Regions from separate parts of the Homo sapiens genome. Here regions 1, 3, 4 and 5 are each linked to region 2. The links are contacts of gene promoters, found by promoter capture Hi-C in blood cells and fetal thymus (Javierre and others, 2016). All regions are on one chromosome and are shown on one strand. The core of a region is centred on a gene start or on the middle of the fragment in contact, and the rest is flanking DNA. Distances in the headings are between cores, read along the strand shown. Region 1 overlaps TPRG1 (tumor protein p63 regulated 1). Region 2 holds the start of TP63 (tumor protein p63). Region 3 has its middle 120 kb from the start of MIR944. Region 4 overlaps TPRG1 (tumor protein p63 regulated 1). Region 5 overlaps TPRG1 (tumor protein p63 regulated 1).

Region 1 (2,700 bases), core at 57-2,556, 310 kb after region 2:
GTGGGCTAGGGATAGAAATTGGAAAATGTAGTCTAATCTCAGTATTTCCAAAAGTTCACCATCTTCTTTTTGAGAAATGTCTTTCTAGTTTCTAGGCCTTTGCTTCATTTTCTGTGAAATAAAAGCACTGAATTGACATGGTTTTTCTGCCTTCTTATCCCCAGAACTCTACAAACTGGCTTCCTAAGAAGGTTTAAACAAAGGCTGAATAAAAAATGGACCTCAAGGCAAATGATTCAGAAGTGCCAACTTATAAGTGAGCTTCTCTTTTCTGCCTTAGATGACCTTAAGATGACCAAAGGTCAGGCCTCCAAACAGGCCCAATTGACCACCGAGGAGTGAGTCCTGGTGATTGTTTAAAAGTCCTCCTGTTGTGTTAAAACATCTATCTGCTTTGAACTTTCTCACCCTCAGAACTGCCTACGATGTATCAGAAGATAGTGAGGCATTTGTCAGTGGAGCTGTTCAAGCAGTTTCTGAAATAAAGCTTATCAGAGATTTTTCAAGTGGAAATTCCTGAATGAGATAAAGACCGAATAATGAAGACCTCCAACCATGACATTTTGGTTATGAAATGCTTTGTACTCTACTTAATGTATCTTGCGTCTACTCCTATTATCAATCAAACTCATCATGCCATTTGCTAAACTGTAGTGGTAAGTTCAAATGATAGTCTGATAAAAACTCCAAGTGTACACATAGGTCCCCTGGGTTGTGGCTCCCTGTTGAGCTTAAGGACAAAGATCCCAAGTAAGAACACCAAGTGTAAAATGAGAAAACCATAATCAGTAGGTCGATGGTAATGAAGAAACAATTTCTGGAGGAAATGTAGTTCCCTTGGATGTTTTCCCACCTTCTGCTGCAAAAGTCACATCACTCTCTAGGCAAATACTCAAAACTTTCTGTTTAATAAAAGAATTTAACCTCATTTCATTGAATCCTCACAAGATCTTTATGAAATAAGCAAAAGTAATATAATTGTCTCCATTTCGCAGAAGAGGAAATTAAACCTTAGGAAAGGTAAGGAAATTTTTCAGGGTCTCCCATGATTGATCCAACTCTTTCCTAAGAAAAAAATGGGTCTAATTAACTAAGTACTAGCAACAATTATTTGGAAAATGATAGGGTCACCGGCCTTAAAAGATTATGTCAATCATTTCTCCAAACGGTATCATACAGCAATTCCTCTCACAATATCGACTTTATCTAGTCTTTCCTTGAACATACCAAGTGATGGTGGGCTCACTGTTTAAAGAAGCAACCCATTCCATCATTGAAAATTTATAACTATAAGAAGTTCTTTCTTATCTTGAACTGCTATCCAAATTCCTAAATCTTCTCACCCTCTGGTCATAATACCGCTTTCTAGATCCCATTTATCAATTAAGGGGATAGCCTATATATGACAGTTTTTACAAAATGTGAAGGGAATTCATAAAGACCCTCTTGTCGTCTCTGAGTTCACTCTTTATGCAAAACAGCTTTGATTCCATTAAATGCTTATCCCATTGTTACAGACTGGCTCTCAGAACTAAGAAACATCTCCCTCCTGTCATCCTTTCTGAACTGTTTCCATTGATGATGGTGCACTGTGTCCTTTAGAAGGTCATTTGGGAACAGTCTGGCTTAGGTTACAAAGGGGGCAAATGTGCAGAGAGAAGTCGATTGTCAGGCTGATCCTTAAATGGTAACTCAAAAGAATGTGCTGGACATTTCAGAGGCTTCTGCCAATAAATGCCACTATCTTGAGGCAAATGGGGATTTTCGGGCAGCAGTATTATAATAATTTGCCAATTATGCCTGCTTCAGAACCAGTGCCAAAACAATCCAACGACTTTTCATTCCACTACTGTTGACAGGACAGCTATGGATTTCAACATTTCCTTTTACAGTCTGAATAGAAGTTCCCTGCCTTGGGGACTATAACAATATTTGCCATCATGGGGGGAAGAAAAAGTGGGTGCTGTAAAGGCGGAAGAGAGGGAAAGAAAAAAAAATTAATGGAAGTAAACAAAGACAAAATAAAATAAGAGTTATTCAAGGTTTAGGGTTTGAATGTCTGCATTAAATTGATGTTTATAAATATATCAGAGGACAAATCTTTGAAATTGAGGAAGCAAGCTTTTCAAAGAAAAGACTTTAAACTTCACATAAAAGTCAAAAAAAAGTTGGCTGGAATTTCAACTTAAACATCAACAAAGATGTGTCAATTTTGAGTCTTGGGAAAGGCAAAAAGCTTATTGTAGTAATGTCTATGTAGTCAACATTCAAAGCTTTTTTTTCTACATAAATTTAGATAAAATAAGACTCTGAAAGAAAAAAGAAAAGAAACTTGAGAGATGCAAACATATGAGATAATTTCCTGGGTTGTTGAAAATTAGATCTAAGTCGGGAAGAGACAAAGAGGAAATAAGAGGGAAAAGAGCAATGACAATAGAGTGTTAAGACAGTGTTTTTGAAAACATGGTCTTCAAAACCCTCTGCGATCCATGGACATTCCATATGCAGCACCTCTGAGGCCTAGAAAGAAAGATGCCTGTGGCATTCTCATCTTCACTCCAACCGCATTGAACCTACTTTTATCTGCTTCGTATATGCTGCTTCTACAAAAGATTTCTTTAGAAGAAAAAGGTCTGTTATTAAAAAATATATATTTGAACAAAAGATGGTATAAGTAAATGAGCTAGAAACCAAGTGTAG
Region 2 (2,700 bases), core at 114-2,613:
TTGTGCTAATATTGTTGTTTGTGGTAAACAGCAAGACACGAATCAAGCCACCACCAACAAATTCCACTGAAACCTTGGAGACCCCAAACTTGCTTCCCCTCTCTCTTTTTTCACCCTTTTCTTTTTATCTCCTTTATTCTATTTATCTTTCTGCCTTGCTCTTTCTCTTCTGCCTTTTCGCACAACCCACCAGAAACCTCACAGGAAGAGAAACAATCTACATAGCTCACATTAGTGTTCTACGTTGTAGCAAATCACGTTAAAGGAAGATCACAAATCTTTCACACTCTACTAGTCTACAGTAAGTGAGTCCTGCCCAGAGAGAGCAGAATCTGCTTCTAGTATCAAGCTCCAACAGACACAGGTGGTAAATGGCAAGTTAACCCTTTGTAACCTCACCATTTTCAACACGCAAAGGACCTCTCTCATTAGTCTTATAAAATAAAGTACGAAATCTCATGCTGTTAAACTAACATCACATTGCTACATATGACTTGAATATCTCCCATAACTTTATGACTGGAAAAACACTGTTCAGATTTCATTTACCAGTTTAAAAATAGCAAAGTCTAATTTGAAGCACATACACAATTGTGCACCCTCACTAATATTCTCTCTTAGTACTAGGCAAATGTTTCTAAATAAAATTTACTACAATCACAAGCTTTAAAAGTCAGATTTGTCAAAAGATTTTCATTATCAAACATACCAAAAAATATTCCTTATAAAATGCAATGACAAGCCACAATCTGTTTGGTACAACAATGGCTAGTTATCTATTTCTTAATGTATAAATCAAAATTATTTGGTGTTTATTTTGACTTGAAGATTATCCATACATTATTATATCCCTGCCCAGTGAAATTTCTTATTGAGTGAGTAGGTGCTGAACAAGGCAAATAATATATTTTAAACATTCTTAAATGGCGTGATAATTTTTTTTAAATGGGAAGATTCGCTTCAAATTTTTTCACTTTGTAGATCCAAATATCAACCAAAAAAGACATTCAGAAAATATGTCCACAGACCACTTTAAGTCCACAGAAAGTCCAAAATAATATCACTGTGCTGACTAAACAAGGAGGAATTGTTCTTTGTACACAGCTGACACATTCATAATACACAAGGCACTTCAATTAAGTTTTGAGAGAAGTTATGTCACATTCAAACTCACCGCTGGATGTAAGGGTCAGGGCAGTACTGTAGGGTGGCACACCGTGAAGTTTCAAAATTCATTTCCTTCAACTGTCTTTGATATCAACGAACGGAGAACAATTATATAAAATATACACATATACCTGTGTATATATAGATATAAAGCCGGGAGGCTAAAAGCAATAGGGTCAAATGCTATCAGACATAGAAGTTTAGGCACTTCTCTCCTTCATACATATTTGCAAAGAGGCGGAGCGTTTCTTGATTTTAGCCAATGAGATTCATCAATTGACTAAAACTTCATAAACACTCGATTCTTACCAGCTGGGCATCCTCTCTACTGTTGTTCTTCCCCCTCTCTCACGGCTTCAGAGTCCTTGACGTATAGTAGCCACACTTGTTGTTGGCAATTTGGAGCTGGAGGCATCTCTGAACTTCTGATCTCTGTCGTGATTGGATGCTGGCATGAATGGCATCAGAGTTTAATTTCAGCAGCCTGGACTTTTGTAACTGAACTGAGCTGATGAGTGTCCACCCTGCTCCAGCTACATAACACTTCCTTGTATCTGGATACTGGTTTGATTTGAGGATTTCTGTGACTATTTCTGGGGCTAAAATGTTTTGTAGAGCTGCTTAGGGAAGTTTTGTTTTGTTTTGTTTTTTCATCTATTTCCCTCCCTCCCCGCCCTTCAGTTTCCCTTTCAGCCAACCGCCTGTTGTGGTCACAATCTCAAATAGCAAAGACAGGGAAATTCCTTGATTATATTTAACTTAGAACTCACTCTTCCTCTCAGCTAAGAGAAAGAGATATCCCTTTCACATCCCCTTAGAAGCTTTGCCTGACCCGAATAAAAGAAAATAACCTTTATTGAGTTAAATATCCTACCTCAAACACATGCACATGTACTTACATATAATATAGTAATTTTCTTAAAGATATTAAAATTGGAAATAATATATTATTGTAGAATATTCTGAAGTGCACAAATTATTTCAAATTGCCTGTTAATAAAAATATTCTAGTTTATTTTAATCTCTCAGTCGGCTCCACTCTATTCTTTATGTCTTACAGTTTTTGCTGTTTTTGGTTTTGCTTTGACTTGACCTACTTCGAAAGGAAACCATAAAATTGTTCATATATTCCCAAATCAGTGTAATATCAGGAAAGTCTACACACAAAATAATTTATTTCCTTTCTGAATATGGGCTGTAAACTTATCCTGGTTTTGTGGATTTGGAAATTGAATGAAATATGATTCAGAAGCTCAGTTAGGATAGACTCCAACAGGGGGAAAAAAAACCACTCTGTGTATCTAACGGTCACTAACATGGTGAGTTCACATCTTCCCTTCACCCCCTAGTCACAGGACACACCTGTAAATAGGTGACATCAGTAGATGTCAAAGTTGTGAGACAATCTAAAGCCCTTTCAGAGAAATTTGACATTTCCCTGTAAGTAAATCTAACTCAAAATGTGTTTCATAAAAATATTTTATTTGTTGCTTCAGCCAGGATGGAAGGGAGAAGCTATTTAAAACTTGACAT
Region 3 (2,700 bases), core at 154-2,653, 320 kb before region 2:
AAAGCCAGGACTGTTGAACTTGGTTATGCAAGAATGCCTGTGGGAGTGTACATGGGGGCTGGAACCCTGGCACAGGGCTTTGTCCAGCTGGTGGAAGGGATGTCTTATTCTATTTGCCCAGAGATGGTACTTGCTTACCAATCTATGGACCTGCAGGGCTATATCTTTCCAGAAAGGGTGTCTTTTCTAATTCTCACGAAGTGCTGAATGTGCTTGAGTCAGCCTAGGTTAAATAGTCCAATGTGTATGAATAGTACATCTCATCTGTGTTATCTGAGGAATTACCGTTGGTCTTGGTGATGATCCTTCCCTTGTGTGAAAAGTCTGCAGCTCACAAAGCTTTTATTTTCACCTATATTATTGTTTTGAATGCTTATGACACAGAGCATGTTCACACACTGGGAACCCCAGGAGGTATTCTGGGCATGGATCGTGATGTCCATTTTGCAGATGAGGACATGGAGAGCAGTGGAGAGAGGTGATTACCTGGGGTCACGTGGCTCAGAGTGTCCAGGTCTGAGCTAGAAGCACAGTCTTTTGGGTCAGAAGGGAGAAAAGAGCACCAGGGTTGTTGCTCCCCTGGCCGTGCTTCTAGGCATATTAAATATAAAATAATAAATGTGAATAAAAAAGTCTGATTTTACCAAATCAAGAAAACCTTTTTCTCCTCTTTTATTTTCCTGCTGAGGGATGTATGTTGGCATACTTCCTCTTCTCTCCTCTGTGATATATTGAATACGAGTTGTATTATTCAATTTGATTCAGCCCTATTTTTAAAGACATACCTTGAGCCTTGAACTGCTTTTATGAAGCTCACAAAAGGGAAGAGGATTCTAGTCAGGTATCATTTTTCTCTCCCTCAAAGGCAAAAAGAATCTTGAACTTAAATTTCTTCTTTAGAAAAATCTGACACAGGACAGAGTGATACTGTGGATGGGCGAAGTGCTTTCTTCACAGCCCCGAACCTACATTGTTTGACAAGGAAATCTCAGTTTTAACGCACTCTTAAGACTTTTAATGCACTCTTCATCATTGACATCATAACATTTTTGGCACTTCCTCAGCTGAGGAGAAGCCATGGAATGAGTCAGTGCTATTTAATAATATATACCTGTGAATTTTAATTGAAGTACAAATGCTGAATTATTTCACACAAGAGAACCACAGGGAATGACTCCCTCACTGACGTCAAGAAAGGAGGTAATGGGGGCCGCCTCACCAGTTCCTTATGCCAAAGCATTGAACATTCTGAGCTGACTGACAGTGGTATGGCTGAGAAGTGGGAAAATGTTGACCTGTTCCCACATCCAGAGCACTTTAGGGAAACAGGAGCCATTGGCAAAAACTCCAGACCACAAGTCCGTGTTACAAGCCCTCTCTGCCTCCTGCCAAGAAGGCTGTGATGTGAAATGACGTCTCACATAGTTCCAACTGCCCACCCACAAATCCTCTACTCCCTGATAATTTGATGTTTCCAACAGGAGGCATATAGACTTTTTTTTTTTTTTTTTTTCTCCTGAACCTGGTTGATTTCTTCAAACACATCAAAACAAGTAACATCAGCCACTCATTGAGCTCACTGCTGGGTTGGAGCTGCAGACTCATTCTGTCAGAGCTTCCCCTTTACCTCCTCCTCCTTGTAATTCACAGTGTTTTCTGTGCCCACTGCTGACCTCCGAGGCTGGGCAAAGCCAAGTTGGGAACAATCTGACTATTGATTCTGTTTCACTCTACAATGGATGGCATCAGCTGTAAAAAGTTGGGTTAATGAGGCACCTCTGGCTTCAACTATCTTATTAAGGGCCCGCAATAAAAATAACCAAACAAGATGTTCCTATCATTTTTTTTCCAGACATGTTGCTGGGGAGGAAAATCTAAATGAATGCTTCGTTTAGTCAACATATGACACATGTTTTCTAGTCATTTTATATGGTACATTTAGGAGAAGGGAGAACAAAAGGTGAATAAGACATGCTGTACCCCCTCTCTTTATTTTGGTAGAATGGCCACAGAGGAGAGCCAGGGTAGCCTAGAGTTTGACAGTCTTTCTACCTTAACAGTCCCTTTTATAATTATCTGATATCTTCTGCTTTTGAAGGACGAATCAATTTCGAATAGATAAGGCCACGTGCCTTCTTGATTTGAGCCTCATTTCAACAGTGAATTGAGTGTTACCTATATATATGGGAATCTTGCCCTGGGCCTCTCTCATCAGACCTAGGTGCCTTCCCGCATGACGGCAGCGTGATGACATCGGTCCTAATAATCTTATCCAGACCCGAGGTAAACCCTCCTCTCTTATTCCAAGTTTATGTTTTTACCTCTGAGTTACTACCTGGTGGTGGGTGGAGGTAGAAATAGGGAATGGACAATAAGCATTACCTGGTATGTCTCATCTCTTTCCACTTGTTAATCGTATATTCCATTGTTTCAAAGGTTGTAATCGTGGTTGGCTTTATAAAGCTTTTTTATGGTCTTGAAGCACGTAGCAATCATATGTAACTACATAATTATCTTGAGAGACACGTCAATGCCATCTTCATTGTGTAAATGGGAAAAAACAAACAGGCACAGAGAAGGTGATGTCGTAAAGCCCTGGTCATGTATGAATTCATTTCACAGAGAGTTTTTGAGTGGCCGTGCCGTTGTAGGCTTAGGGAGGCATTTAAAGATGAATAAAATGTTATCCCTTCTTTTAAG
Region 4 (2,700 bases), core at 179-2,678, 390 kb after region 2:
GCCAGAAATAAAGAATACTTCATAATGAAAAAAAGGCTCAATTCACCAGAAAGACACCAATCATAAATGTGCATGCACCTAATAATAGACTCAAAATATGTGAGGCAAAAGTTAACAAAATTAAAAAGAAAACTAGAAAATTCCACAGTGATAGATTTTTGCACTCCACTCAGTAACTATTAAAAAACTACACAAAAAATCAGTAAAAATATATATAATCTAAATAGCATTATCAAACACAATATCCCAATTGATATTTGTAAAAAACTACAAATAAAATTCAAGTGTACATGACAAATTCACAAAGATATATCATAATGAGCTTCATAAAACAAATCCGAAAGTATCAGTAAGGAATAAAATTAAAGACAGTATGCTCTCTAAATTAGAATTAAGTATAATTAAGATATCTATAAAAACCTGAAATATTTGGAAATTAGCCAATACAACTTACAATGCATCCATGGGTCAAGAGGAAAATCACAAGAAAAATTTAAAAATATCTCTAAATGATAATAGACACACAACATATCAAAATCTCTGGGAAGCAGCAAAAGTAGTACTTAAAAGGAAATTTATAACTGTAGATGTTCATATTAGGAAAGTTTAAAATCAATAACCTTGGGCTGCACTTCAAGAAGTTAAAAAAAGAAAAAGTAAACCCAAAGTAGAAGAAAGGAAATAATAAGGAAAAGAGTAGAAATGAACCGGGCGCAGTGGCTCACACCTGTAATCCCAGTACTTTGAGAGGCCAAGGCAGGCGGATCACCTGAGGTCGAGAGTTCAAGACCAGCCTGACCAACATGGAGAAACTCCATCTCTACTAAAAATACAAAAAATTAGCTGGGCATGGTGGCACCTGCCTGTAATCTCAGCTACTTGGGAGGCTGAGGCAGGAGAATCGCTTGAACTCCGGAGGTGGAGGCTGCGGTGAGCCAAGATCATACCGTTGCACTCCAGCTTGGGCAACAAGAGTGAAACTGCCTCAACAACAAAAAAAGAGAGCAGAGATAGAGATCAACTAATTAGTAATTAGCAAAACAATAGTAAAAGTTAACCAAGTGAAAAGCATGATCTTGTTAAAAACCAACAGAATTGGTATGATCATCAACAGAAGAGAAAAAAGAGGGAAGACACAGATCACTGATATGGTTTGGATCTGTGTCCCCACCAATTCTCATCTTGAATTGTAATCCCCAGTGTTGGAGGTGGGGCCTGATGGAAGATGATTGGATCATGGGGGCCTATTTCTCAGGAATGGTTTAATGCCATCCTCTTGGTACTCTCCTCATGATAGTGAGTGAGTTCTTGTAAGATCTGGTCATTTAAAAGTGTGTAGCATCTCCCCACTTTCTCTCTTGCTCCTGCTCCTACCATGTGAGATGCCTTGTTCCCTTTTTCCTTCTGCCATGATTGGAAACTTCCTGAGGCCTCTCTAGAAACAGAAGTTTCTGTATAGTCTGCAGAACTCTGAACCAATTAAACCTCTTTTTTTTCTTCTTTTTTTGAGATGGAGTCTCATCTCTGTCACCCAGGCTGGAGTGCAGTGGCTCGATCTTGGCTCACTGAAATCTCCACCTCCCAGGTTCAAGCAATTCTCCTGTCTCAGCCTGGGATTACAGGCATGCACCATCATGCCTGGCTAATTTTTGTATTTTTAATAGAAACGGGGTTTCACCATGTTGGCTAGGGTGGTCTCGAACTCCTGACCTCAAGTGATCCATCCACCTTGGCCTCCCAAAGTGCTGGGATTACAGGTGTGAGCCATTGCACACGGCAAACCTCTTTTTTTAATAAATTACCCAGTCGCAGATATTTCTTTATAGCAATGAGAGAACAGAATAATACAGAAAATTGGTACCAGGAATAGGGCATTACTATAAAGATACCTAAAAATATGGAAGCAACTTTGAAATTGGGTAACAGGCAGAGGTTGAATGAGTTTAGAGGGTTCAGAAGAAGACAGGAGGATGAGGAAACGTTTGGAACTTTCTAGAGACTGGCTGAGTGGTTATCACCAAAATGCTGATAGTGATATAGACAGTGAAAGCCAGGCTAATTAAGTCTCAAATGTAAATGAGAAACTTATTTGGAACTGGAGCAAAGGTCACTTTTGTTATGCCTTAGCAAGGAACTTGGCTGCACTGTGCCTCTGCCCTAGGTATCTGTGGAAGTTTCAACTTGAGAGTGATGATTTAGGATTATCTAGTGGAAGAAATTTCTAAGCATCAACACATTCAAGATGTGACCTGGCTGCTTCTAAGAACCTATACTCATACATATGAGCAAAGAAATGACTTAAAGTTGGACTCATGTTTAAAGAAGAAACAGCATAAAAGTTGGAAAATTTGAAGACTGGCCATATGGTAGGAAAAAAAAAAGCCAATTTTCAGGGGAAGAATTCAGGTAGGCTTCAGAAGTTTGCATATATAAAAAGGAGCAAATGCTCATAGCCAGGACAATAGGGAAAACAACTCACAGGCATTTTAGAGACCTCCTTGGGGGGTCCTCCCATCACAGGTCCTGAGGCCTAGGAGGACTAAACCCCCAGTGTTAGAAGTGGGGCCTAATGGGAGGTGATTGGATTATGAGGGCAGATTTAGCAGGAATGGGTATCATCCTCTTTGTATTGTCCTCACAATAGTGAGATCTGGTCACTTAGAAGTATGTAGCACCTACCCCTCTCTCTCTTGCTCCTGC
Region 5 (2,700 bases), core at 64-2,563, 350 kb after region 2:
AGGCACAAAATACACGTTTAATACCCTCTCCCCCACTCTCTCTGTCTTTTGAACTGCATGTTCAGGCAAATACAGGTGTTAGAAGAGTATGTAGAAGTAGCAACCAGAGCTGGCCTGGCTTGCTGAAAGAACAAACGCCTACAAGATATGACTTATGGAGCACCTGGCTGACCCACTGCCCAAAATAACACCATGTTATCCACTGATGCCTAAGATTCCACTACCTATGCTGCTGCCTTTTTTTTTTTTTTTTTGGAAAGGACTATTATGCCTACTGACATTGCCCTGGGTTAAGAAACTTTTTCGGTCTATTTGCAAATATTTAAAAACCTCAGCCAAGGCGGGCGGATTGCCTGAGCTCATGAGTTCAAGACCACCTTGGGCAACATGGTGAAACCTTGTCTCTACTAAAATACAAAAAATTAGACAAGCGTGGTGGTGGGTGCCTATAGTCCCAGCTACTCAGGAAGCTGAGGCATGAGAATTGCTTGAGCCTGGGAGGCAGAGGTTGCAGTGAGCTGAGATCATGCCACTGCACTCTAGCCTGGGCGACAGAGAGAGACTCTGTCTCCAAAAAAATAAAAAATAAAAATAAAATCCTCTTGTGGGTGTCTTTCAAGGTCTTTTCTGGGAGCTGGTTTAGACCTTGGAGTAAAAGAAGAAATGATGAAGTCAGTAGGTGCCTTGAGATGGAAAACATGTCAAACCAGAAAGGTAAAGTCATTGAGGACAAATTTACTAACTCAACTAGTGCTCAATCTTTGTGAAAACAAGCTTACCATAGCTTTAGCTTGGATTTATACATTAAGAAAGATGAAAAAAATACTTCTTATATTATGATTTTATATTTATAAAATTACATGTCATATAATTAGGATAAAAAATGTCTCCATATCTCTTATACACACTCACGTGCACACACACACATATGCATCCACGATAACATAGTTCAATGGGTGATTGGCTCAGGATATAAATGACATTTTTAAACAAAAAATATTTTCATCTTTCTGTTTTGCTGTCCTCTACATTTCACTGTAGTTCCTCTCAGGGTAGTAACATGGCTAAAGGTGTACGAAGTTTCACATACAGACCCAACAATGTAGGACTTCTTCCCATTTTTTTAATCAATAAAGAACATGTTTTCCTTAAGTTTACTAGGAGATTTTCACATTTGTGGGAAGTGATATTGCTCAGTGGTTAGGAGCACATAGTCTGGGATCAGACTCCTAGGTGTGGACCTTGCTTTACCATTTATTAGCTGTGTTTCCTTGAAGCAGTTCCTTAACCTCTCTATTCGTTAGCTTCCTCATTTGTGAAATGAATAATAGTATCTACCTTATAGTGTGTTAAATGAGTTAATGTATGTAAAGACATTTTAACAGCATTTGGTTGATGGCAAGTCCTATAACATGTCAGTTATTGGGCCTGAATTGGGTCATACAGTCATGGCTAAGACACTAACTGACATGTAGGAGAGCTTGCCATCATTCTTCTCCTGGGGCTGCAGACCACCTTTCCTGAATCTCATGGGTCTCCCGAAGGAGAATAGATACGTAGTTAAAAGTGGTTCTGCTTAGGATGGGGGAAGGGCATAAGTGATTGTTGGGTAGGCAATCAAAACTGTCTGCTACATGTATTATATCCCTTAATCTTTAATACAACGCTATGATGCAGATAGTATCATTCATATATTACAGAGCAAATCCAAGACTCAGAGAGGTGAATTAATTTGCCTCAGGTAAGAGAAATAGCCATGGTAGGGTTACAGCTTTAACCCAGGCTATCTGTCTTCGAGTCCTGTGTTCTTTCTGTTATGGCAATCACCTTCCCTTTACCTTCCCCAAGCTTCTTGTTGGCCTCCATGTGCATAGGTTTCCATTGGTCCTGTTTAGGTGCATGTAGAGAAGTTTTAGATATGGGTCTCAATGCTGCAGCTTAGAGGAGTGGAAAGATACAAGATAAAGTAGGAAAGAGGGGCATAAAAAAGCTCTAAGTTTTTCAATTCCTATTATTAATACACATGTTATATGAACTGAGTCTCCTCTCATTCATGACACTCATACTTACAAAAAACATTTTATCCTATACGGAAAGAAGTCAATGTTCAGTAAGTCCTAGTTCGTCATCTAAAATGTCTTCCATTCATTTATATATATTATTCCATTCATTTATATATATCCATTCATTTATATATATTATTCCATTCATTTATGTATATCCACAGGTGCATTCATTCACTTCTATATTGCCCGTGGCTGCTTTCACTCTACACTCTTCACTAACCACTATGGTGCTAGTCCTGTTGTTTACAACAGGGCTAAACAACAGGTGCTGATATGAGATATATGTTAACAGATAAGTCCCTGAGCTACAAAAGAGATAGTCTAATATCACTAATCCCTCTTATTTTCCACAGCAGGAATTCTATCCAACCATACCATAATGGGAAGTGGCTACCAATCCCGCTCAGAGGTTTTCCAGATAAAGACCCGTGATCTACCAAATATTCTAACTTTTCCTCTAACTCTTCTGCCTATCTGAAGGACTACATTCAGTTTTCCCGTTCATTCATACACCCCTATAACTTTTCATAAACATCTTATTAGAGAAGGAATTACCTCCCTGTACTGTTTCATCCAAAGTCACAATCTATACGTTGATAGTGAGTGTCTAGAAACAACCTGAATTAGTAGTCAG

The links. The method cuts DNA at HindIII sites, captures the fragments that hold promoters and counts their contacts. A CHiCAGO score of 5 or more calls a contact.
Region 1: a fragment that was not itself captured here is called in contact with the fragment with the promoter of TP63 in region 2 in 1 of 17 cell types (activated CD4 T cells); the score reaches 5.1 in activated CD4 T cells.
Region 3: a contact is called between a fragment that was not itself captured here and the fragment with the promoter of TP63 in region 2, in 1 of 17 cell types (megakaryocytes). The highest score is 5.0, in megakaryocytes.
Region 4: a contact is called between a fragment that was not itself captured here and the fragment with the promoter of TP63 in region 2, in 1 of 17 cell types (activated CD4 T cells). The highest score is 5.0, in activated CD4 T cells.
Region 5: a fragment that was not itself captured here is called in contact with the fragment with the promoter of TP63 in region 2 in 3 of 17 cell types (naive CD8 T cells, activated CD4 T cells and non-activated CD4 T cells); the score reaches 7.1 in naive CD8 T cells.

Annotation. Positions count from the first base shown.
Region 1 is chr3:189,321,672-189,324,371 of GRCh38, reverse strand. TPRG1 (tumor protein p63 regulated 1) reads right to left here. Exons shown (of 6, transcript NM_198485.4): 6 at 1-2,700. Among named protein-coding and RNA genes, the nearest start is that of TPRG1-AS2, 82 kb to the right of the region's middle. RefSeq lists an enhancer at 1-306. The HindIII fragment of the contact is 1,634 bases long and covers 490-2,123 here.
Region 2 is chr3:189,630,052-189,632,751 of GRCh38, reverse strand. It overlaps TP63 (tumor protein p63), which reads right to left and starts at 1,363. Exons shown (of 14, transcript NM_003722.5): 1 at 1,175-1,363. The coding sequence starts at 1,236. RefSeq lists a cis regulatory region at 1,836-1,846 and a promoter at 1,239-2,048. The HindIII fragment of the contact is 1,324 bases long and covers 667-1,990 here.
Region 3 is chr3:189,952,266-189,954,965 of GRCh38, reverse strand. No RefSeq gene overlaps it. Among named protein-coding and RNA genes, the nearest start is that of MIR944, 120 kb to the right of the region's middle. The HindIII fragment of the contact is 2,124 bases long and covers 342-2,465 here.
Region 4 is chr3:189,243,227-189,245,926 of GRCh38, reverse strand. All of the region lies in intron 4 of TPRG1 (tumor protein p63 regulated 1), which reads right to left. Among named protein-coding and RNA genes, the nearest start is that of TPRG1-AS2, 4.0 kb to the right of the region's middle. The HindIII fragment of the contact is 4,979 bases long and covers 1-2,700 here.
Region 5 is chr3:189,279,770-189,282,469 of GRCh38, reverse strand. All of the region lies in intron 4 of TPRG1 (tumor protein p63 regulated 1), which reads right to left. Among named protein-coding and RNA genes, the nearest start is that of TPRG1-AS2, 41 kb to the right of the region's middle. The HindIII fragment of the contact is 1,074 bases long and covers 777-1,850 here.